Linked DNA regions of Homo sapiens: all the other regions are linked to region 3. Evidence: promoter capture Hi-C in human tissues and cell types (Jung and others, 2019). All regions are on one chromosome and are shown on one strand. The core of a region is centred on a gene start or on the middle of the fragment in contact, and the rest is flanking DNA. Distances in the headings are between cores, read along the strand shown.

Region 1 (4,117 bases), core at 976-3,475, 640 kb before region 3:
GTGAGCAGACACACTAGGATACTGCAACAAAGAGGCCCCCAAACACAGCAGCGTGCATAACACTTATTTCTTCCCCACGTGATAATGCGGCCGGTTGGCCCAGGCTTTCATGGTGGTTTGAAGGTGTTCACAAGCTCCAGGGCCTCCGCAGACCACTTAACTCTTTAGCTACCAGGACACAATTTTAAAAACCCTTGGCCAGGCATTGTGACTCATGCCTGTAATCCCAACACTTTGGAAGGCCAAGGTGGGAGGATCGCTTGAGCCCAGGAGTTAGACACCAGCCTTAGCAATATAGTGAGGCTGTGTCTCTTAAAAAATAATTTAAAAATTAAAAAAATTTAAAAACCCACTTATTCAGACCAATCCCACTCTCTTTGGCCTCAGCTTCAGGTCCAGGCTGCCCAGATCCTCATTCTCCCAACCAGAGGATCATCTGTGTGGCTTCCCAAACTACAGAGCAAGTTCCCTGAGGGGAAGTCGGTCTCTCACAAATGCCACAGGGCCACTGCATGCACTCTGTCACTTTATAAAATAGTACTTATTCCTTCTGTGGTTTACATCTGCCCACATCCCTGACCTTTGAGTGAGTTACTTCACCATTCTGTGCCTCAATTTCTTTATCTATAAAATGGGGATGACAATAGTTTGCCTCCTAGGACTGTCAGAAGAGTTCGACAAGCAAAAAGCATTTGGACTTCAACTTAGCACATGACAGATGGTCTCTGAATAATAATCAACATTATTGTCTCTTGATTCCCTGGACTTGCCCATGAAATCCAGAGAATGAAGTGCAACCAGAACTTCATTTTCTTCCTTTTTTTTTTTTTTGAGATGGAGTCTCACTCTTGTCGCCCAGGCTGGATTGCAATGGCGCGGCCTCACCGCAACCTCCCCTCCCCGGTTCAAGCGATTCTCCTGCCCCAGCCTCCCGAGTAGCTGGGATTACAGGCGCCCTTCATCACGCCCAGCTAATTTTTTGTATTTTTAGTAGAGACGGGGTTTCACCATGTTGGTCAGGATGGTCTCGAACTCCTGACCTCAGGTGATTCACCCGCCTCGGCCTCCCAAAGTGCTGGGATTACAGGCGTGAGCCACCGCACCCGGCCCAGTACTTCATTTTCAGATGCAGACATGAAGGACCAGAAGGCTGAAGCAACCTGCCCAAAGCCACTATGCTGGCGGGTGGCCGAGTTTGGGTTTAATCCAGGCCCGAACCTCAGTTCCCTCAAGATAAAGTTGGGGTGATTATGGCACCTTTCTCAGGATTAGGTTGTGAGGCTCAGATGCCATCATGCAATCATGGCAGGCACACGGGGGCCCCTCTTCAAACGTCTGTGCGCTTCCCTTGTGCCCCGCCCTGGCACACAGCCGCCCCCGCGGAGCCCAGGGATCCCAGCCCGGCAGTCCTCCGTCAGCTGCTTCTGTTTGGATGGCGGGGACGGCTGGGCCGACAGAGAGGCCCATTGTCTCCGTCCTCTGGGGCTCTATTGTTGGGGCCTCCTCCTGGGTTGCAGCCCCACGGACAACCCCAGCTGTCGCTTGGGCCTGGCTCAGCTTACCCCGGCGGTGAGGGTGCGGGTCGGGGACGGAGACGCGTGCACCCTGAAGACAGTAACTAGGCCTGCTCTACAGAGGGAAACGCAGGCTCTGAGAGCCTACATGTCTTCGCCGGGAGTGCTTGTCCCGGAGCTGCTCGCAGACTGGGCCGGGGGTGGGCTCGGGTCGGAGAGGTCACGGGGCTCCTTAGGTCACAGGCGGCAGGGCCAGAGAAACTCCCCCGCCCCTACGTTTAACTCGCGGAAACAAGGGCCCAGAGAGCCCAGACGCCAGCCCAAGGTCACACAGCGAAGCCCCGGCACAGCCCGCCGGGAACCTGTCGTTTCTAACCCCCAGCCTCTCGCCGTTTCTACCCAGCTTGGGAAGCGCAGGAACAGGACATACGGTGGTCGCGCCCCTTCCGCGAGGCCGGGGTGAAACCCGCTTGGCCCTCCCGCCAGGGGGCGGAGCTTCCGAACCAGGCGGGATTCCACCGGGTATTTGCCTGCGGAGGCGGGACTTCGGGCTTGATGGGCGTTGGGGGTGGCCTTCCTGCGGGCAGGCTCTCTGTGTCGCAACACTGGCGGGGCGGGCCAAATCGGCCAGAGCTCTGCCCCCAGAGGACGCGGCTAAGCCCGGGGGCGTGTCCTGGGCTGGCCCCACCCGCGCCCCGCCCCGCCCCGCCCGGTCGCGGAGCTGCGGCCAGCTTTGGGAGGGCCGGCCCCGGGATGTGAGTGCCGCGGGGCGAGGGCGGGGGTGGGCTCCCAGGGGTCCCGGTGGGCGGGCGCGCTAGGGCGAGGGCGGGGACGGCCGGGCGGGCGCGCCAGGTAAGGGCCCAGATTTGCTGGTGAGGGGTGAGGGACGCTCGGGACGGGTGTTTCCAGGCCCTCCCGGCGCGCCAGGCCAGCCCCGCGCCCCTGCTCGGTGGCCCGAGGGACGCGCGCCGGCCGCGGGCCTGGGCCCGGACCCGGAGCGGTCGGGCGATGTGCGCGGGTCTGACGTCTGCGCTGCCCAGCCCCCTGGCTACGCGGACGCCCCCACGGAGGCAGCCACTGGGGCGGATTTCTGTCTCTGGGTGACGACTGCCAGGGTGTGATGGGAAGGGTTAGCAGCGCAGCGGGGTCAGGGGATCCCCGCCCCCCGCCCTGGCTCAGGTTGGGTCCCGACTTGGGTTTCTGAGTGCTTACTGTGCTCAGCTCCTCAGTTGCATTCTCTGAGTCCTCACAACAGCCACACATTTTGCAGCCGAAGCCTTGTGCCACACAGCTGTGGGGGCATTTATTACGGTGCAGAGGTGATGCGCGGAGGCCTTGCAGCCAGACACACCTGAGTGCACGCCTGCTTCTCCACAGACCTGCACTGTGACCTTGGGCACACCTGGTCTGCTCTCTGAGCCTCTGGTGCGATTGTGGTGCCTACCCCCAGGGCTGCTGTGAGGACTGGATTGGAATTGGGTTCCGGGAAAGGCAGCCAGTTTAAGCAGCTGTTGTTGAGGGGCCCTTGTCTGCGGCTGAGGGGCTAGTGGTGCTGGGCAATGGCTGGTGGGTCAGTCCAGGCGGGCTCGGGAGGGAGCTGCTTTCTGCCGAGGCTGCCCCAGCTGTGCGTCTGTCTTTTTCCACACGGTAGGCTACACACAACCCAGCTGTACCAGCATGTGCCAGAGACACGCTGGCCAATCGTGTACTCGCCGCGCTACAACATCACCTTCATGGGCCTGGAGAAGCTGCATCCCTTTGATGCCGGAAAATGGGGCAAAGTGATCAATTTCCTAAAAGGTATGGAAGGTCCCCCTTGGACTCTCATCTGCTTCCTCCAACCCACCTGTCCTCTCCGTCCTCATCCCCAACATAAGCCTCAGGCTCTCTCCCATCTTCAGTTTCAGCCCTCGGATGGCCTTCCACCCATGCTTCCGCCCAAAATGATTTTTCCAACACAGACTCCTAATCACGATATGATGTCCCTGACTCAGACTCTCCCTGGCTCCCCATCCTGTGGGCCTAAGTCCTGCCTCTGCCCAAGAGGCCTAGTGGAAAGGTAGCTGATTACTGATGGGCACAGGGAAGGTGAAGCTTGGAGGAGTCCATTTCCTAAGGTTCAGAGAGTCAGGAGGTAGAGCACCTCCACCGCACCTCTCTTGATTACAGATGGGGGAAATTGTGTCCTAGAATGATTAGGAAACATGTGCACCCAATTCCAGTCCAGTCCTCACAGCAGCCCTCGGGGTAGGCACCACAATCGCAGCAGAGGCTCAGGAGCTCACTGTAACCTCCGCCTTTCAGGTTCAAACAATTTTTCTGCCTCAGCCTCCCAAGTAGCTGGAATTACAGGCGTGAGCCACCACACCCGGCCCTGATTTCTTAATATGGCACTCATTATAAGATTGTAAAAGCCCACCTGTAGACCGAACTGGGCACACTGGCTGCCTGCTTGTGACCTCTTTCCAGGGAAGGACACAGCTCCCATTAGTGGCTGAAGTAACACAGTTACAAGAGGCGGAGTTGGGTTTGGAACTCAGAGCTCCAGGCGCCCTACCTTTAGGGCTCATCCCCTTGAGCAAAATGATGCTTCGAAGAGCATA
Region 2 (3,605 bases), core at 440-2,939, 950 kb after region 3:
ACATTAAAATATCTGAGAATGTAAGTAAGAGGCTCACAGGCTTATTTTGATTGGCTGGCCATTTAAAAGCCAGAGATTTACATAAAAACCTAGATTTCAGCTTCTTGACAAATGAGAAATTCTCCACGGAGCCCACAATGCCAAACAGTGAAGGGCCCTCTGGATAGGGCATGTGCTCTCCAGCTCGCTGCGGGCCGCACCGAGACCCCCACCCCTTCCCATTATCTGCCTGGCAGTTGCCCGGGGACAAAGGTGTGCACAGTTGTGCAGTAGGTTATGAAGGAGTATCTGGGTGCCCATACACCCTAAGACCAAGACCAAGTCTTCCAGGAAGCCATCAAGCCAGCTGATTCCAGGCAAGCAGGTCCAAGTTATCAGATTCACCTGCGCAGAGCAAATGGCTAGGAAGCGGCTTCCGGATCTCTTGAAGGGCCATGCAGTGAAGGTCCGTCACCAAGGGGACCATGCCCCACAAGAAGTTGCTCCCCGCCCCCACGCCTCATTTTGATCCAACATACACCCAAGTCCCAAAGTTTCTGCGGGCTAAGGCTGCCTCCTCCATCACTGCTGAACTCCCAGCACACAGCACACAGCCTAGCACTCAGAGTGTACTCAATAAATGTAGACTTCATACCTGCAGAGCCTAAGGCACTGCTTAGGGCTGCCTCAGGGTCAATCCAAACCTTTCACTTGCCAACTGCCATTCAATGAGTCCCTACTCTGCTCCAAGCTGAAAGACATCCTAGGCGTTCCCTACAGTTCCTTCTAGTCGGGGTAGGGTCTGCCGCTGCACAGCTGACATAATTAATCACTTCCTTCCAAACCTTGAGTCCCGAAGGAAGCGGCCACACTGCCCGGCTCACCGCTCACCGGCTGGCATGGTGTCTCGTGGAGCTGCAAGTTACTTAACCTCTCTGTGCGCTTCCCCAGCCTTAGAGTGGGGATAAGCTGGGGTTTCTCTAGGCATCAGAAAAAAGAAAGCGCGAGAAGCATTCAGAACTGTGCGAGATATGATCAGTGTTCGCCGCTGTTATTTCTCTCATTTTATCCTCAGATTCGTCCTGGGGTGTCACCCCCGTCACCCCGAAAGGATCTGCGGCTGCCCCTCCCCAGCGCTTGCCTTGCTGGCCAGAGGGGCCAAGGGAACTGGTGGCCTCCCTCGGGTCAGCCTCGCCCACCGCGCCGGAGGAAGGAGATCCAGGAGTGGGGTTCTTGTCCTCCGCCCCCCAAACCTCGTCACGACTGCAGCCGGCCCGGCGGGGGCCCCGCCGTCCGCCTCAGTCTGGACCTCTGTAAAATGGGGGTAACAGCGCCGACCTGGGGGGCCCGCCCCGGGGATGAACGGCCGCCCAGAGCGACTCGGGACCTCACGTTACCAGCAGGCTGGCACGACTAGCAGGTTACGGCTCGCCAGGCGGCCGGGGCTGCGACTGACCTGGCGCCCTCGCCCAGCTCCCCATGCGTGTTGTAATTCACTGTCATGACCTTCACGGAGTCCTTGAACACCACGTTCCCCTGGCTCAGATATTGCAGGGTGCGGCGGATGGGGAAGCGGCCCTTCATGGGCATGGCGGCAACGGTGGCGGGGCCGACCCCACGGGCCGCGAGCCGAGCAGCGACGAGAAAGGACTAGCTAGCACCCGCGCGGATCTCACGCGGCTTCTCCCCAGAGCCAGGTTCCACTTCCCGCGCAGACGCACAGGAGACGCTTCCCGGCGGGCAGCGCACGCCGCGGAGCACTCTGGGACTTGTAGGCGGCCTTCGACCCGGCGCGGCGAGAACCGGTGTGTGCAGCTTCGCTTTAGGACGCCTTCCCCTTGGAAGGTTTAGGTTGTCGCGTCCTGTAAATTAGTCATTTCCCCATCCACCCACGGGAAAATATTTTTACATAGGCTAAAAGTCAGACATTGCAATAAGAAATAATCAGGAAAGCTCAGTTTGGATACCAAGTCAGCTGATAACGTCCTATTGAACGTATTGTCCATTTTTCTCCCCAAACATCTCCAGTTTTATCATGAAGAGTTCAAACTGCACTTTCTGACGTTGACTTAAACTTCTTAGCAAAAGAAAAAAAGATGGTTTGGGATCAATTCCTTCCTAAATTCAGCCACTTAACTCAGGACCTCAATTTTTTCGTAAACAAACTATGGGTGAGATGTATTTCTAGGGCCAGGCGCGGTGGCTCCCGCCTGTAAACCCAGCCTTTGGGGAAGCCGAGGCGGAAGGATCGCTTGAGGTCAGGAATTCGAGACCAGCCTGCCCAACATGGCGAAACCCCGTCTCTACTGAAAATACAAAAATTAGCCTGGTGTGGTGGCAGCACCTGTGGTCCCAGCTACTCAGAAGACTGAGGTGGGAGGATCGCTCGAACCCGGGAAGTTGCAGTGAGCCGAGATCGCGCCACTGCACTCCAGCCTGGGCGACAGAGCAAGACTCCCTCTCAAAAAAAAAAAAGATACATTTCTGAAGTACTCTTGATCTGAAAGGTATTTCTCCTTCTCTTTTGAAGAGTGATTTTGCCAGATTTAGAATTCTAGGTTAGTGTTTTTCCTTTCCCTCCCTCCCTTCTGGAGTGCAATGGTGCTATCTTGGCTCACCGCAACCTCCGCCTCCCAGGTTCAAGTGATTCTCCTGCCTCAGCCTCCCGAGTAGCCGGACTTACAGGCATGCGCCACTACACCCAGCTAATTTTGTATTGTCAGTAGAGACGGGGATTCTCCATGTTGGTCAGGCTGGTATCAAACTCCTGACCTCAGATGATCCGCCCGTCTCAGCTTCCCAAAGTGCTGGGATTACAGGCGTGAGCCACTGCGCCTGGCCCTGGTGTTTTTCTTTCAACAATTTAAATAGTTCACTCCACTCTTTTTTTGCTTGCATGGTTTCAAACAAGTAATTAAATGCAATTACATTTATAGGTATGATGGCTTTTTCCTTTAGCTTCTTTCAAATTTTCTCTTGGTGTTTGGTTTACGGGGTTAGAATAAGGTAATGCAGATCTGTAGATGTTTTGTATTTGTCCTGCTTGGAGTCCTCTGAGCCTCCTGGATCTGTGATTTCATGTCTGTCATTAATTTTGTAAAGTTCTTAGCCATTTATTAGTTCAGGTATTTATTCTTCACTCTTTTCTCTTTCTAGTATTCAAGTTAAATGCATTTTATGTCTTCTGGAATTGCCTCATAGTTCTCGAATGTTCTGGCGGGGTGATGGAGGTTCTCTTTGCATTTTAGTGGGGAAGTTTCTGTTGACCTATCTTCAAATTCATTTAATCTTTGGTTATGGACAGTCTACTGATAAGCCCATTAAGGCATTTTTCATTTAAGGTTTTAACTTCTAGCACTTCCTTTTGATTCTTAGGGTGTTTGTTTGTTTGTTTTGAGACAAAGTCTCTGTCACCCAGCCTGGAGTGCACTGGTGCAATCTCTGCTCACTGCAACCTCTACCTCCTGGGCTCAAGCAATTCTCCCACCTCTGCCACTTAGCTGGGACTACAGGTGCACACCACCATGCCTGGCTAATTTTTTTTTTTTTTTTTTTTGAGACGAAGTCTCGCTCTGTCACCCAGGCTGGAGTGCAATGGCACTATCTTGGCTCACTGCAACCTCTGC
Region 3 (3,971 bases), core at 224-2,723:
TCAGGGCAACAAGTGAAGGGTCCTACAAGGAATATACACACATCAGTTAGCATTTGAGAAATTCCAATCAGGAGCCCATATTCTCGAGGCGGCTGCTTCAAGCTCTTCAATTACCAGTTAGCACTAGAAGATTAGTTGTCATCATGGACATCAGAAGTGGTTTTTGATTGGTGAAGTGACTACTGTACAATACGTAGATTGTTCATGGACACTGCACACACACATCCACCTCACACGGTCTGCAGTAGTAAGTATCTAGTGAGTTTAGCAGCCCAAATCCTTTGGAACAATGTCCTAGGCCTAAGCGACCACTGTTATATTCAGCCATTAACCAAGGAGTGAGCAACAGCTCTGACTAGGTTAGCTGACTCCTGCTGCTAGAAAGCTGTCTGTGGCAAGTGACCTTTTCATGTAAGGTGCTTGCTGGAGCAGTTAGAGACAGCAGGGACTTCACCAACCTTACAGAACAAGGTGAATGACTGTCTACTTGCTAATAAAGTTGGTAGATGTGGCAGAATTCAGTCTGGCAACTTGTCTGAGCAAAAGCCCTGTCACCTTAACCTACCTATAACTGCTGGAATCTACTAATACCCTCTCCCAAAACTTAGCTGTTGTGCCAGGGAAGTACATCAGAACAAGGCTGGAAAGCACAGTCCCTCAAACCTCTGAGGAAGATAAACCACTGCCCTCAGAGATGGTCTATGGCTGAGAATAGATACCTGAAAACTTGGCCTTGGCTAGGAAAACATGGGAAAGGAATTAAGAACACTGAGCTTCTCCCCAGTGCCCTGGTGTGGGTCCCTGGGAGGCCACATGTCACTCACCATGCTCCTCGTATGGATCGTTGGGGTCATCAGCCACCAATTCTGCACTGCTTGGAGTTTCATGATCTTCTTTGGTTACAAATATGATTCGATCCTTCCCTAGTGTTTGGAGAACAGAGGAAGAAATATTTCATTCAAGAGCAGTGAATCAGCTTTAAACCCAAAGCAGCCGCCACACAAACCAAGTTTGAAGACTCTCCCATATGCCATCCCTATGTGAGGTGACTATCAAACTGCTCTCATATGCTAGGGGTAGCAAACAAAAGCGGATGGATAAGGGGCAGGGCAGGAAAAGAAGCACTGAAGAAAAAGAGTGTCCTGGGGTTGACCCACAGGGTTCAGAATGCATAAAAGTTGAAGGAAGACTGAGCACATTGGCAAAGTGAGTGTGCAGTGATGTGGGTCCTCAGCCTACAGATCACTGCAGCCCACATAGCTGATGCGGCCACAGGCCCCTGCCTCTGAAAGGCTGAGGACACAGGTGGTCTGAGAGGGACCACAGCCAGCACCCCCACTAGGCCTCTGGGCTCCTAATCGTGGCCGGAAGAAGGAAGGGTCATAAGGTGAGGAACACTGCAGCCGTTCCACTCCCCACAGTCCAAGAGGCCGGGGGACCATTTCCCAACAAGTATAATAACTGGAGGGGGGCAGTGGGAGGAGCACTTCTCAGATCTTTTTAACTGTGACCATCTGCAGTTTATTTTTTTAGGACAAACCCAACAGTGGTTAGGGTCAGGACTGTGGTCCTGTGAGGACCAGCATGGGAAAGCCAGCAGGCCTAAAGTGCAGAGCACCTTGTTCACAACCAGAGCCCTCACCCTGGGGCCTGGCTGCCGGAAGGTCTGAGGGCTCCAGGAAAACAGACCAGTGAGAGTCAAATGCATTTTATATTAGGAGCTTCTCCTCACTGGAGGCTGGGTGAGCACAGAAAAGCACATCAGTCCTGGCCAAACCAGGGTGGGTGCATTCACTGCCTTAGAGTGACCCCCTATGAAGTATTATCACCCTCAGCCCCCATGGAGTACAACAGAAAACCAAGGCTGAGTTAAGCAGAAGGGAGGTCCTTACAGCCCTCTCTGCTACACCTTGTAGCTGTCAACACTTTACCTCACCTCCCTAAAAACTTTGGCCATCAGCTAACCACACCACAGGTATGTGTCAGATATTCCCATTGTGGGCAAGGAGCACCTTGTCCTCAGTACCCCACACTGCACGGTGGGTCATCAGTTTCTCCAGCTGTCCCCAGAGAACAGACAGAGCCAGTCCATCTTTTGGTCCTCCGTGTGAGCTCATTCCTCCATCCTATCGCCACCCTGAGAGGGAGGTAGCAGCATCCCCTTTTAATGGTGGTGAGCCTGAGGCTGTGAGTAGTAACTTGCTGGGCCACACAGGACAGGATGCTCTGAAGTCTACACTGTTGGAGATCCTTTCTACACACCCATACTGCCCCGCACCAACATTTGCACAAGAATAATCGACAGCTGACACTGAGCACTTAGCATGACTGGGCACTGCCTGAGAGCTTGTGCACCTTGGGCAATGAATAAATACAATAAATTCTGACCCAACCTCGGCCCCAAAAAGCTTAGAACCAAGTGAAATGTTTGCCAAGTAAACAAACAAGATCTTTCTTGTACTTTCCTGGTGAAGGTGAATGACAAATTCTACAGACCAACTGACCATGCATTCTGATCCTAGAAGATCTGGGGTACTGGGACCCTCATCTGGAAGGGGATAGGAGGTGCCAAGCATTTAAGAAGACTTCTTCAGGTATGGCCAAAAGTGCCTGGCAGAGAGCCACAGTGCATGGCTCTGAGTGAGTGGCCACTGTGGGCGCAGAGGCCGGACCTGCAGAAACGTGGCCCTGTGAAAGCTGCGGGCATCTCTGATCACTTTATACTTTTTGTTTATATTTAGAAAAGTTCAGTCACAGCTATGCTGAGGGGAAAGCAAGGAAAAAGGTTTGGGCCCATGCTTGGGCTGAAGTAATTAAGGAAGAGGCTTCTGGAAGGAAGGGGGCAGTGACAACAAAAACCGAGCGACATCTCCAGTGAGAAGGACAGTTCAGGGGACAGAGGGAGGGCACTTTGGTGCCTTACGCCATGCCCACACTGCACAGGGTCTCTTACACTAGAACAGAGTAACAACAAAAAACCCTCAGCACACGGGGCCAGGACCCCCAACCCACTGGAGGCTTTTGCTCCCAGAGCTGGCCTCTGCCTCAATACCTTGCATGTCATCCAACAGAAGGCTGCTTTTCCCCTGTGGCTGACTGGGGAAAGCTTTTGGACCAGGCAGCCAGGACTTGTTAAAGTACCTAGTAACCTTGATTCTACTATTCTGGCCAGTTTCCAAAATACTCAAAAGCAATCTGTAAAAATGTTGAACGCTAAGCAGAATGAGCTGATGCAAATTTCGCAACTCAGCTCTGGCAGTTTTGTTTACCGAGATGGCAGCTCAGCGCAGCCCAACGGGGAGGCCCAGTCACAGGCACAGAAAGCAAAGGGTCCAAACGTGGTAAAGTATGAGGCCCTCCTGGGGTTTGCCATACATAGAGAGACCAGGCCTCACCCAAGAAAAGCTGAATCGAGCTCTCTGCCATGTCCATGTAGCTCACGGGCTTCACAGGTGACTGTGATACACAGCCAGGTTAGGAAACACCAGCCTAGCACAATCCCACTGAGAATTCCAGGTCCCTCCCACTGGGCCAGGTCCTCACATGTGCCTTCCTGGACATTTTCCCTTGCAGCACAGTTCACACTGGATCGAAAGTAGAACAGTAACAGCTGTATCTTTTACACATTTTTGTCCCATGCAATGTGTTTTATTACATCTGTGAGTTCACTGGTGGGTATTACTTTATCTCCATTTTACAGAGACCACAGGATCTGAGAAACAGACCAAAAGACATGCAGTAAATGAAGGCAGAACAGGAACAGGAACTCTGGTCTGAAAGATCTGGAGTATGTCCCCTACAAACTGTCCATTGTATGCCTGTCCTAGAGGGCCTTTGCTTTCTGGAACTTTTAAAAGTCGATTCAAGGACTGATGCAAGGACAAGGCTTACCTATTCCTAACAGACCTAACTGTGAAAGAAAGGACTGGTCAGACTAGTCGTAAGATGCCAACTAGTGGGACAATCAGCTA

What was found. The method cuts DNA at HindIII sites, captures the fragments that hold promoters and counts their contacts. A contact is called where the count stands out against the background at its distance.
Region 1: a contact is called between the fragment with the promoter of HDAC11 here and a fragment that was not itself captured in region 3, in 1 of the 25 tissues and cell types used here (dorsolateral prefrontal cortex).
Region 2: a contact is called between the fragment with the promoter of MRPS25 here and a fragment that was not itself captured in region 3, in 1 of the 25 tissues and cell types used here (spleen).

Annotation. Positions count from the first base shown.
Region 1 is chr3:13,478,081-13,482,197 of GRCh38, forward strand. HDAC11 (histone deacetylase 11) reads left to right here and starts at 2,226. Exons shown (of 10, transcript NM_024827.4): 1 at 2,226-2,269; 2 at 3,166-3,314. The coding sequence starts at 2,268. It overlaps HDAC11-AS1 (HDAC11 antisense RNA 1), which reads right to left and starts at 1,973. Exons shown (of 2, transcript NR_046690.1): 1 at 1,563-1,973. RefSeq lists enhancers at 1,582-1,641, 2,291-2,947 and a silencer at 2,102-2,591. The HindIII fragment of the contact is 10,065 bases long and covers 1-4,117 here.
Region 2 is chr3:15,063,626-15,067,230 of GRCh38, forward strand. It overlaps MRPS25 (mitochondrial ribosomal protein S25), which reads right to left and starts at 1,690. Exons shown (of 4, transcript NM_022497.5): 1 at 1,436-1,690. The coding sequence starts at 1,569. RefSeq lists an enhancer at 1,670-1,849. The HindIII fragment of the contact is 13,424 bases long and covers 1-3,605 here.
Region 3 is chr3:14,115,602-14,119,572 of GRCh38, forward strand. It overlaps CHCHD4 (coiled-coil-helix-coiled-coil-helix domain containing 4), which reads right to left. Exons shown (of 3, transcript NM_001098502.2): 2 at 825-923. Among named protein-coding and RNA genes, the nearest start is that of CHCHD4, 7.3 kb to the right of the region's middle. The HindIII fragment of the contact is 4,215 bases long and covers 1-3,581 here.